Regions from separate parts of the Homo sapiens genome. Here regions 1 and 2 are each linked to region 3. Evidence: promoter capture Hi-C in 16 types of primary human blood cells and fetal thymus (Javierre and others, 2016). All regions are on one chromosome and are shown on one strand. Each heading gives the region's core, a stretch centred on a gene start or on the middle of the fragment in contact. The rest is flanking DNA. Distances are from core to core; before and after follow the strand shown.

Evidence for each region. The method cuts DNA at HindIII sites, captures the fragments that hold promoters and counts their contacts. A CHiCAGO score of 5 or more calls a contact.
Region 1: a contact is called between a fragment that was not itself captured here and the fragment with the promoter of OLFML1 in region 3, in 2 of 17 cell types (monocytes and naive CD4 T cells). The highest score is 5.9, in monocytes.
Region 2: a fragment that was not itself captured here is called in contact with the fragment with the promoter of OLFML1 in region 3 in 4 of 17 cell types (monocytes, non-activated CD4 T cells, naive CD8 T cells and 1 more); the score reaches 6.0 in monocytes.

The regions. Positions count from the first base shown.
Region 1 is chr11:7,647,455-7,651,337 of GRCh38, forward strand. PPFIBP2 (PPFIB scaffold protein 2) reads left to right here. Exons shown (of 24, transcript NM_003621.5): 18 at 933-1,083; 19 at 1,346-1,457; 20 at 1,693-1,781; 21 at 2,078-2,200; 22 at 3,386-3,511. Among named protein-coding and RNA genes, the nearest start is that of CYB5R2, 24 kb to the right of the region's middle. RefSeq lists an enhancer at 3,419-3,883. The HindIII fragment of the contact is 1,881 bases long and covers 1,380-3,260 here.
Region 2 is chr11:7,690,319-7,694,135 of GRCh38, forward strand. It overlaps OVCH2 (ovochymase 2), which reads right to left. Exons shown (of 16, transcript NM_198185.7): 13 at 1,584-1,677; 14 at 951-1,082. It overlaps LOC105376533 (a long non-coding RNA gene), which reads left to right. Exons shown (of 11, transcript XR_007062576.1): 3 at 960-1,174; 4 at 1,663-2,235. Among named protein-coding and RNA genes, the nearest start is that of OVCH2, 14 kb to the right of the region's middle. RefSeq lists an enhancer at 696-1,895. The HindIII fragment of the contact is 1,796 bases long and covers 596-2,391 here.
Region 3 is chr11:7,482,394-7,486,775 of GRCh38, forward strand. OLFML1 (olfactomedin like 1) reads left to right here and starts at 3,113. Exons shown (of 3, transcript NM_198474.4): 1 at 3,113-3,611. The coding sequence starts at 3,483. RefSeq lists an enhancer at 2,790-3,294. The HindIII fragment of the contact is 6,703 bases long and covers 332-4,382 here.

The sequences.
Region 1 (3,883 bases), core at 1,070-3,569, 160 kb after region 3:
GCTGCAGTCAATACCTCTCCCCACCCCCGCAATCCCCACACATAATCACACAAGGCCAAACATCTCTTGTTAAGGCAATTCCTAGACGTTTTATAATGTTGGTTGCTATGAGTGGGATTTTTAAATTGTTTTAACAGTAGCATTAGTATCTGTGCATTGATGGTATTAGAAAATTATTGATCTTTGTATGTAACATACGTTACATATGTTTATATGTGTATTTCGTAAGTGGCCACCTCACTGAGCTTTCTTGGGTTTTCTAAATGGGCAGTCCTGACATCTGTAAAGAATGGCTTTATTTCTGCCTAATAGCTATACTTCTTGTTCTTATTTATCTCTAATACTGGCTATGACTCTCAGACCAGTGTTGTTAGTACTGATGAAAAATATATTGTCCTTTTATTGACTTTAATGTGAATGTTCCTCCTGTTTTGTTAATAAGTAATGTGCTAGCTGTTGTTGATTGGCAAGTTTTTGCTTTTAGTTTTGGGTGTTTTGTTTTTTTTCTTTTTAATGTTAAGAGAACTGACCCTCTTAAATGCTAAGAAAAGTAGTTTTCTAAGCATTTTCCTAAAAAGATGATTCCGCCTAATGAGGCCACAGCTCTGGACTTGTGGCATGTATATGTGTGTATGCGGACCTAGGACATGTGAACATGATCTCAGGAGGGCCATACAGGCTGCCCCATTCTCTAAGTAGCCTGAGATTTGAAATTCAGATCTTGTGTTATTAAGAAAACTCTAGGGTCTACCTCCTATGAGTGTGTTGTAGTGGAATTTTGTTCAGCAGAATCCCATGATGGAGGTTGTTTGTTAAAAAACAGGTTTTTTGTTTTGTTTTTTCTTTTCTTTTCTTTTGTTTGTGAGACATGATTAGATTCAGAACCTCAGGCTCTCCCACTAACAGGAATATGCTGTTTTCCTGCTTCCCAGTGACGCCAATGCCCCCTTTGCCCAGTGGAGCACAGAGCGTGTGTGTGCATGGCTGGAGGACTTTGGCCTGGCTCAGTATGTGATCTTTGCCAGGCAGTGGGTATCTTCTGGCCACACCTTATTGACAGCCACCCCTCAGGACATGGAAAAGGTAAGGGCTCAGCTTGGGGAGAGGAGGCTCCCATTTCTCCCCAAAGCATGGGGAGGCCAGGGTCCGCCACTCCTGTCACACATACACACAGGAGGATGGATGGAGGAGGCTGAGAGTTCCTCTGTAGCTGCAGGTTGGCATCCCAGGGCACGGTGTGGAGATACACTGCCATACTCAGAGCATCTCCACCCAGACACAGCTTTCTCTGAGGGCCAAATTGCCTGCCAAAATTTCACATGTGGTCTTCATCTTTTAATTTCAGGAGCTAGGAATTAAGCACCCACTCCACAGGAAGAAGCTTGTTTTAGCAGTGAAAGCCATCAACACCAAACAGGAGGAGAAGTCTGCACTGCTAGACCACATTTGGGTGACAAGTAAGGATAGGCATATATGTATTAAGAATGTCTCTGGCAGCAACTAAGAGTAGAAAGAATTTTCCTGTTAAATGGGTACCTCAAGGACAGCTGTCTCCTTGTAAAAAGCAGAGGAATTACTAAACTTTTGGGGGAATAAAACGAACCTCAAAATATAATTTGCTCCCCTTTTTTTGGTGTCTACATTCTCTCATTCTCATGAATCCTGACACATCTGGGGTTTTTGTATTTGTAGGGTGGCTTGATGATATTGGCTTACCCCAGTACAAAGACCAGTTTCATGAATCTAGAGTTGACAGACGAATGCTGCAATACCTAACTGTGGTGAGGACTTTTTCTTTAAATATTTCAGTTGTCCCTGTGAGCACTCAGCTCACGTGTACCCATGGTGGTTATTTTAAACTTGATTCCATATATTCTTAAGGCCTTGAAATAGTATCATTTGTCACAAAAGAGGTCCCAAGTAGCAGAGTACAAACCACTGTGATAAGCTATTGGTGTCTCCACGTGCACCTTCCTGAGATGTGGTTGACTTGTCTATGCTTGGTCTGGTGAGGGACATCAGGGGTCTTTTGTCACTTTGGAAACTCTGGTTTATAAACCAAACTTTCCTCTTTCAGAACGATTTACTCTTCTTAAAAGTCACCAGCCAACTACATCATCTCAGCATCAAATGTGCCATTCACGTGCTGCATGTCAACAAGTTCAACCCCCACTGCCTGCACCGGCGGCCAGCTGATGAGGTGAGACCACAAATAGTATCTCTCCAGGTAGCCCTGAGCCAGGACCCCTGAAACATCGAGCATGAGCAAACAAGAATGACATCATAAAAGCACTGTTTTTTGCACCATGGTGCCTGGGATTCTTTTGTTTGCTTGTGCTTCCTGTTGCCCCAAACATCCGTTACCTGCACTTTGTGTCTCACAGTAGCCATAGACCTCTAAGCTCCCACCCTCCACTGGGGAGACACATGCTATAAAGTCATCATAGTGATTAAAGGAGATGAGGAGATGGTGCAAAGGAGAGGGGGAGGGAAAGACAAAATGGAAAGATGGGTGTCACAGTAGAAGAGAAGAGAAGAGACAGAGGAGGGGGAAGAGGAGCCCGTAGAAGCTAGACATTTCAGAATAGGTATCCCTACTTGTAGATCCAAAATTAACTGACTTCCAGGCCCAGGTACAGGGGATCCATGAGTAGTCTTGCTAGAGAAGAAATAGTATACGTAAATAACAGCACCCCAAGTCTTGAAGAAATAACTGATTATGTTCCATGAACTTCGGAGTTCTTGGTGGACCCCCAAACTGAAGATTGTCAGTCACATCCTATCTCCTCTGTTCCTGGGAACTAGGTCTAACCTTGCTGTAAAATTAACTCAGCTTCCTGGGCTGCTACCTTTGCTGTCTATCTCCTATTTTCTCCTTATTCAACCAACATGTTTTGAATGTCTTGTATATGTCAGGCACAGCGCTGTGCATTTTTAAGACCACAGTGCTACGTGAGAGCACTTAGGAATAAGTACCTTAAGGTGTGCTCCCCTAAAATCATTGGCCACACCAGGGAGATCTTTCATCTATAAACCACTTGGATTGTAAAATTGACAGTCATCTTTAAAGTTCTGTTGAATCACTGAAAGAATAACTATAATGTCCTCATTTATTTGTCTCAAAGTTAGCTGGAAAATGATGGAGTAACAGAATTCTGGATTCAGATATCTCAGTGTGGAAGATCTTCAAAGATTCAGTGGGAGCTCTATTTCCTAGAAACTGGGGAGGCTGGTGCTCTGGCAGATGGGGTGGGTCACTAAGCTTGAGGGCCTTCTATTGTTGTGATGCGTCTGGGGCAGGGTTACTTACCGGGGCTGACTCCACAGAGGACCATGGTGGGACCTATTAAGCCTAACTTCCTCACTCTCCTTCTCCCTCTGACAGAGTAACCTTTCTCCTTCAGAAGTTGTACAGTGGTCCAACCACAGGGTGATGGAGTGGTTACGATCTGTGGACCTGGCAGAGTATGCACCCAATCTTCGAGGGAGTGGAGTCCATGGAGGCCTCATTGTGAGTGGCTCTCTGGCCTAGCCCACCTGCCTTGGTGCAAATGGGATATTCAGAAACTTATTTATTAAGGACAAGGCACAAAAGCTAACGAAAAAAAATAGGTACTTCATCTGGAGGTCTTGCATAATTTGATGTCTCAAAGTATTTTGATAACTTGTCCTTGAGAATTAATATACCTCATGGAAGCAAGATGCCTTCTGGCAGCACCTCCTTGGCATGAGACTTGAGGATTCTAGGTCGATGGGTTGCATGGAGACCAACGCTTACAAGGCGAGGGAACAGCAGGGCTGAGGAAGGGACGGGGAAGCCGTAAAAATGCAGCTTCCCACTTGCTGCAATAGGATCCCTATCACTACTCAGATCTGTCAGTGG
Region 2 (3,817 bases), core at 244-2,743, 210 kb after region 3:
GGGCCTGGAACTGGTGAAGATATTTCATGTTTCTATGTCTCTGTTATGTACTGCACACTTGCTTGTGGCCAAGTGTATCTTATCTGATTTAATCCTCACTACATTCTTATTAGGGATGCATTGTTTTCCCTTAGTAGGGTTGAAAAAAATGAGTCTGAGGTGACTCTTAAGATTACACATCTAGTAATGATTGGCCATCAGGATTCAGACATACAGTCACTCGTTCTTTGTGAACTCCCTATACGTGAATTCACCTACTCACTAAAAATTATTTATAGCTCCAAAAGTGATACTCATGTTGTCCTCAGGATCATTCATAGGCATGTGAAGAGTGACAAAAAATACATGTTGTTAGACACACGTTTCCACACGAGGTAAAACAAGGCAATATTTTGCCTTCTTGCTTCAGCCGTCATCCTATAAACAAATGTCCTTTTCATGGTCTATTTAGTGGCACTTTTTTTTCATTTCTGTTCTTTTTATTGGTGACCTCAACCTTTAAAATGGCCCCAAGCATAGTGCTGAAGTGCCGTCTAGTGTTCCTAAGTGCAAAACTCTGTGGTGTGCCTCACATAGAAAACACACGTGTTAGATAAGCTTTGTTCAGACATGAGTCATAGTGCTGTTGGCCATGAATTTAATGGCCGTGAATTCATTGTAATGAACCAGCAATATATATTAAATAACATATCTTTAAACAGAAACACACATAAAACAAGTTTATGTACTGATCAGCTGATGAAAATGTACCTTGAAGGCACCTAACCTTGTACATTTCCTAGGAGGGATGGCTGAGTATTCTCTTATTCAGTGTCCATGGTGACTTGATAGGATGTAATTACTGCAGATAGTGAGAATCGACTGTCTCTGTGTTGGGCTCTAAAGACCTCTAATTCACATCACAAGGATTAGAACTGGGAACCAAAGAGTTGGTAACTCTATCTTCTTACCTGCTTTAGGAATGAAGGAGACTGTAGCCTGAAAGCCCCTGCAGGTCCCGTTTTCATCTGATTGGAAGCTGATGAGCATGATGCTGGAGGGGCTCAGCACAGGGGTGGGGACATCATAGCCACACAGCCGAGCTTGTTGAAGGCCAGCCCAGGCATGACATTGTCAAGCACCCAGCAGATAGCCATGGCATTGGAGAGAAGAAAAAAAGAAAATCATCCTTCAGGTAATTGTTGAGAAATACGCTTTTCACAATTCATTTTCTAAATAAAGGCAGCTCACTCCTTAATTAACCCCATGACATTTCAATTTGGTTTTCTCTCCTGAACACTCCCACACACAATGATGTTAAGGGAACTGGTTCTAGCCTCAGGACTTGTTTCAATGGAACTTTCCCTTTCTGACTCCTAGTTTCCTCATGGGCCTTTTGCATTTCTGTTTCAGTGGTTCTTTGATTCTCCCTTTTTCTCTTCCTGCCCCTAATGAAGAAGACAAAGGAGTGATGGTGAGACCACAGGGAGGGGTGGAGGTGGTGCAGGAAGATGGAGGAAGATTGATCTGTCTCCTTTTCGTTCCCATCTCAAGACTGGGTCCAAACACAAACCAGAGCGAGCTGAGGCTCAGAGGACACAAACCTATTTCCTTCTTCCTTTCTACATCGCTGTGCACTGTCACATAGTCGGAAGTGCAGTCTCCACTTTCTTCTATTTCCAGACTCTGAAATGAAAGCTGAGAAGACACGAAGTTACATCCAGAGTAAACAATCTGAATGAATTACCTGACTTTGATTCAGCAGAGAAATTTGGATTGCTCAACTTGTTCTGGAGTAAGACCTTAGATAAGAAAGTTAATGGGGTATTCAGGAGTGGGTCAGATTACCAAGGGAAGGATTCTATATCACAGGCTCTAACTTTTTGAAATAGCTACCAAATATGGCCTGAATCAAAGGGCAGGAAACTGTGCAAATATTTTAGCTTCCTAACATCTCTAAGAGATTAGGAGAGCTACCGCATGGGGATTTTTTTCCTTGGAAGCAACTAGGCACTCAACTCAACTAATTGCATATACACAAAACTGCTTCTCTGGACATCTTAGTGTTGTTCACCTGGTTCCTGATGTTTCATCTTGAACCTCTAGTTCTCCTGAATCAAGACTGAAATTTGTTGTGCCCCTTGGAGACCGTGTCTTTCTACCCAGCGGGATATAGCTGGCTCCTCTTCTCACCTGCTTTGTCCTGTTGCCACTATATTTCCATGCCTCACTGCAAAATTCTGAGAAGGCACAGATGTAAGTGAGTCTAATTGCTGATATAAAACAAAGTATCATCTGAGCTACTGAAAGCATTTGCATAAGTGGGCTCGGAGTCAAATGTAGTGAGCCTCATGAATGTGCATGAAAAAGGAAATCCTTGTATGAGTTAGAGAGAGCTGATTTTGGATACTAAGCTTAAATGTAAACCTCAGCAAAATTCTTGAGTAGATTATTAAGCTATGATGAGTAATGACCTAGAAAAGAAAGTTGATCACCTGGAATCAACCTAGGGTCACCAAGAATAAATCATGACAAACCTTTTCTCATAGTTTCTATAATTGTGATGCTTATTGGCAGCATAATATTTCATTTATCTCTATCCTTGAGACCTGTATTTTTTGCTATCTTAAAAACTTGGCAGTGAATATCTTTAGGCATTTACTTTTTTTCTTCTCTTGTATCATTCCCTGCATGGGGCACTTGTTTTGTTTCAGGAAAAGGGAGGGGAACTATCTAGATAGAAGGAACAGTGTGAAGGAGAAACAAAGAAACAATAAAGAGTGATCTTGGAGCAGTTTGGTGAGCACTAGCCAATTGAATTTGAAGTGAAGAGTGGTGGGAGAGAGGGCTGATGAAATAGGAACTCTAATTTTAACACACAGTTGATGGGGATTCAATGGGACCCAGACTCTGAGCAAGAAACAGAAAGGATTGTGTGGATAAAACAAAACTGGAGGCAAATAATTACTAATGGTAAAGGTAGGCGTGGGGAGGGGGACCTGTATCAGAAATAGGATTCATTCAAACATTTATTAAACCCTTACTGGGATACTTTCTGGGAAGGGGCCCTTTTCTCTCCAAGTCAAATGGTGAGCATATTCCTATGACTTTTAACACCAGTTTCCAAATTACTATCTTACACGAGTTCTGCAAAATGATGCTGTCACTGGCAGAGTATGAGAGCATCGCTTCACTGATGCACGACACTCAAACTTTACTTATTGAAGAGATATTTTTCAATCACTTCTGGCTCTGGCATTTTCAGATTTTCAACTAAATTTCCTCTTCTTCCTCCACCTGGAAACATGCTCACAACCTAAATTTTATCCTCCACCACTAACAAATTTTCCTTAATTCTGCTGAAATTTTTGCCCCAAATCTGTTTAGGTTTGATGAACTTTTAGAAAGAAATCTATACCAACTGCCTCTGTATCATCTTTTCCCACTCATTCATAAAACCTGTGTGATCTTGTTTCTGCCATTAACATCTGACTTCACGTGATATTTCAGATACCACCAATCCCAACTCCTCTCAATTGTTCAATTTCCCATCTAATTATTCTCCCTTTTTTATGGAGGTGTGGGGTGGGGACTGGACACCTCAGTTCTCATCTCTTTAAGTTCTAACTTAGTGTGGTATCCAAATGATTGGTCACATCTTTTTCTTTGGTTTTGTTTGTGTTTTAAGTTAAAGGCTGCATTCTCCAGGCTGTCATAAAAACACACCAATTTGGTTCTCCTCCCACATCTCAGAGTTCTTTCCATCTCTTAAGTGAGAACGCTGGTGTCTCATCATCCCTCACTCCTCTCCCCTTTATTTTCTGCTCTCTTTTCTCTC
Region 3 (4,382 bases), core at 1,863-4,362:
TGTCTGTCCCAGAGGCAGCAAGCCCACAGCTCTCACCAAGCACCAATGCCCAGATTAGCCTTCCCCTCAAATTTCCAAGATTCAGGATTCAACATGTTACAGGTATTATTCTGCCTGGAATGGGGTCAAATAGGTGGCAGGAGGACTTGAAGAATTCACTAGTTACAAAGGGGAGAGACCTTTCAGGCTGAGGAAACTGCATAAGCAAAGATACCACATGTTAAATTTCATGGGGAGCTTGGAGACAATTAGATGTGGCTGTTGTGGAGGATGAATGTGGTAGATGCCAATTGTTGAAGGAAGAAAGGTTGACCGAGGTTATACGGTAAAAAGCTTTCATTTTGGCATAAAATCAGCCAACACTTTATCTAAAGAGATGAAGATAGGGAATTAGAGGCTGTTCCAATCACTCATGCAGGAAACAATGCAATTAACTTGGTAAAAGGTTGGAAGATTTGAAGATGACTTACAGCAAATAACTATCAGGAAGGGGGAAGCAGGAGAGGTATGACAAGCAAAAGATAAAGGGAAAAATAGAGGCAAAGAGAAAAAAAAACAGAAGGAGGAGGCATCCTGTTCATATCTAAATGACGAATTCCAATATCCCAGAAGGGATTCTGTTGACTGGGGTTCTGCATCCTCAAAAAGGCAAAGTCTCCTCCAGACTTTGCTGGAGTTGACTAGCATCTCTCAGCAAAGTGAGGGAGTACTGGAAGCAGAGAAGGCTCTAGATATCAGAAGGTCGGTTAACGTGGAGGCACAGCAGCAAATGGAGCCAAGAGGGATGAAGGCAGCAAAAATTTCCAAAAGGAACTGGAGATCTGGATGTGATCAGCTTCAGGGGGCTAACTGGGATGAGAGAATTGATATATCCGGCTCCTTCTCATTTAGAGAAAACAGTCAGCTCAGGCCTGGCTTATAGATTAAGGACCAGTCACCTGGATCCAACCACACAGAGGAAATAGTGGTGGATATAAAGGAGCTTATTTCCCCTCTCAGGATACCGGGGTAGAAAAGCGGAAGGATCAGACACTTGCAGAGGAGAAAAGAGAAGTCACTGTGCTTGTCCACTGTCCTGGCTAGTAATAGCAACGGTCAAGGCCAGAGGTTACGTGTAATGAAGACAGTGGAGCTAACTGATTTCGTCCAGCTGCAGGTCTAGGTGCGGCAGGCCATCTTTTTCACCCTTATCCACCCGGCACCCACTGAGGAGGGACTGTTCTAATAAAGATGGCTTCAGTAGGCCACTGCGAGTCAAGGCTGGGTCTGTCTCCAAAGTGAGTTTGGTTTTTCTTTATGAAACCTCTGGTCACGAGAATATGAGAGTTTCCACTCTGGTTCTGAACTATGGGTCATCAATCCTAATGGGTTATGGGTTCCAGCTGTGAGATTTGCTGTCCCTGTTTGGGATTACAAAAAGTAAATGAAGCTCTCCAGTTAAGACCAGGTGTGGGCAGTCAGAGCTGAGAGGCCAGGAGTGTCCCTCTGAAGAAGGTGGTGACCGCAGAGAAAGTGGTGCTGGGCCTGAATCACTGGTGGGCAGAGATGGTGCCTGCCAGTCCTGAGCCAACCTCTTTGGAGCCCACTCCACAGAGATAAGAGCAACAGCAGCCCTGAAAGCACCTCAAGGACTTCTGCTGCAACCGAGGCTTCCCACTGCATTTCCCCCTTACAGACTCTCCAGTAATTCTTTAGACTCTGTAAGTATGGCATGTGTATTTCATTGAAAAAGTAATGTAAGCATGCTCTAGAAAACCCAGGAAAGAACTACCCACACCACCACCACCGAAAAGTTAATTAGATACAATCAGAGTTTTCCTCCACTGGACCTTATCCATCTTAGTTCACAGTCTCAGAGTTAGGACTTGAGGCATTTGTGGAAGTAAATCAACTAGAGCACCCTTAAGACTTTATTCAAAAATGCTAGGCATGAGTAATTTCAGAGAGAATATTCTCACTTGGAGAAGCAGCGTGAGCCAGACAGAATTTTTAATAAGGATTTAGGAGGCAGGGTCAGCTGAAGTTCAACTGGTTTAGGGAATAGTGCAAAGATGGTTCTAAGAAATATGAGGAATTGTTTCTAAGGATGATGAACTACTGTTTGGGATTTTTACCGAGAGGGTGAGGAGGAATAGTTAGGAGCTGTGGCCATATGGAAGAAGGGTGGGGAGAAATATTACCGGGCATAAGGAAGTTTAAGGACCACCAGTGGAAAATTCTCAGTCTATGTGTCTCTTTTAAAAAAATTTTGTGGATACATAGTAGGTGTTTATGGGGTACGTGAAATGTTTTGATAAAGGTATCTATTAGCGTCTCTTGTGAGGACCAAATGGAAACACAGGCCTTCTGACTCCTGGAGAGCATTCTTTTCACATTCCATAGATGCCCCAGCCTTTCTCAGTTTGGCAGGTGATTGAGAAAGAACCCCAAGGCGTCCTGGCCTTTCCCATGGAAAGGCAGGTTGAGATAAGAAGAGGGCTGGACTGCACAGACAAATTCAAAGATTTTACCACCTTGTCCTAGGGTTATAATTTATCTTCAATTGGACCAGGGCCTGCAGGAGTTTAGTCCTACATATTTCTGGCCTGCAGCTACATGAAGGGAATTCTGCCTCCAGTGATTGAGAAAACTCAAGGATTTCCTTACAAAGGCGTTTCACTTTTTGATGGCTTGACCCTGGAAGCATCACTGTATCAATGATTGTTGTTGTTCCTCTTAATCAAATTATTCTCAGCTCCATCCTGAGATGTTTCAGCTGACAGCCTGGATGGCCAGGCCTGTAGCCCATTGTACCTTTCTGCCCAAGGGGCGATGTAGCCCTGTGCACTGGCTGTTCAGAGATAGTGGTAGATCCATGTTTATTTTTCCTGGCTGTGCCTTTAAGAGCTGCAGGAATGTGAAGGGAGTCTGGATGAGGGGTGGGGTCTCCCAATAGGACTTCTGGAAAAGGATCCTGGGAATTTTTGCCAGAAACTAAACTGAGAGTCCAACTTTAAAAAGTTGGGGGTGGTTTGTGTTGGGGAAGGCCTGCGATTGGACTGCAGAATCCACTAGGGAGGAGGAAAGCAAAAGTAAAAAGGAAATAGCTGGGGGAAGGGAACGGGGGGAAGCCATCTTCACCCCCCACCCCAATGCACACACAATTAAGCCAGGAAGCAGCTTGCAACCACTAGCCTGGGGAGGGTCCGCATGTGTCAAGGGTGAGGGCAACAGATGCTGGACCCAGGGAGCTCTCTGCCACAGGTCAGTCTACAAGGCCTCAGGGACCAACTTGCCAACAGCTGGACTTGATCACTAGCTGGCAAACTGAGCTCACGTATCGGGTGGAATAACAAGCGGACTTTGCTCTCTGCTGTGCAAAACGCTGTTTTTAGAGGATTTGCCACAGCAGCGGATAGAGCAGGAGAGCACCACCGGAGCCCTTGAGACATCCTTGAGAAGAGCCACAGCATAAGAGACTGCCCTGCTTGGTGTTTTGCAGGATGATGGTGGCCCTTCGAGGAGCTTCTGCATTGCTGGTTCTGTTCCTTGCAGCTTTTCTGCCCCCGCCGCAGTGTACCCAGGACCCAGCCATGGTGCATTACATCTACCAGCGCTTTCGAGTCTTGGAGGTAGGTGGCATCTGTACACCTTGGATAAGTAACAGGCTTCCCAGAAGTACCTTATTTTTACCCATGCTTCTCTATCTACTGGGTTGTATTTTTCCCAGATAGCAAATGACACATTGCCAAAGTTACACTTTAAAATGCTCATAGTCTGGCAGTTTAGAGCCGAACTCCAGAGTCCAGTGTGCTACTTCCAGACCTTAAGCACAGTTGCACTTTGTGCTCTGATTTGGCAGTTTGTCTCATCTGTAAAATGGGGATAATAGTAGAATTTATGTTGTAAGGCTATCCTGAAGATTTAATCCATAGCTAAAATACTGCCTGGCATAATGGTATGTATCTAAAATGTTATTATTCACCATAGTTCATTTTTTAAAATATGAAACTTAAAAATGTTGGTTACTTTTTCTTCATGTTTTAGTGTTTCAGGCTGATAATGGATTTCAGCTTTTCGTTTTGTCTTTTATGATAAACCATTAGGTCACTGTAAAAAGTCATGATATCAATGTACTGAGAAGTCTTAGTTTCTTTTGCTGAACTGGATTTAGACTTAGAAGTGAGCAGATTTCAGCCAAGTTAAACAGAAAGAATGCATTTGGGCTGCCACCTCATTAAAATGTGCAAAACCCAACATTTTGGCAGCCTGGACAGGCTCCCAGGGACAAATGTAACCCTCCACCCTAGCCTTTGCCACACCCTGGCATTGATTATTCATACTTAATGGCTTGCTTTTGTACAAGCTAAATTGATAAATTATTTATCTTCTTTCAAAGACCC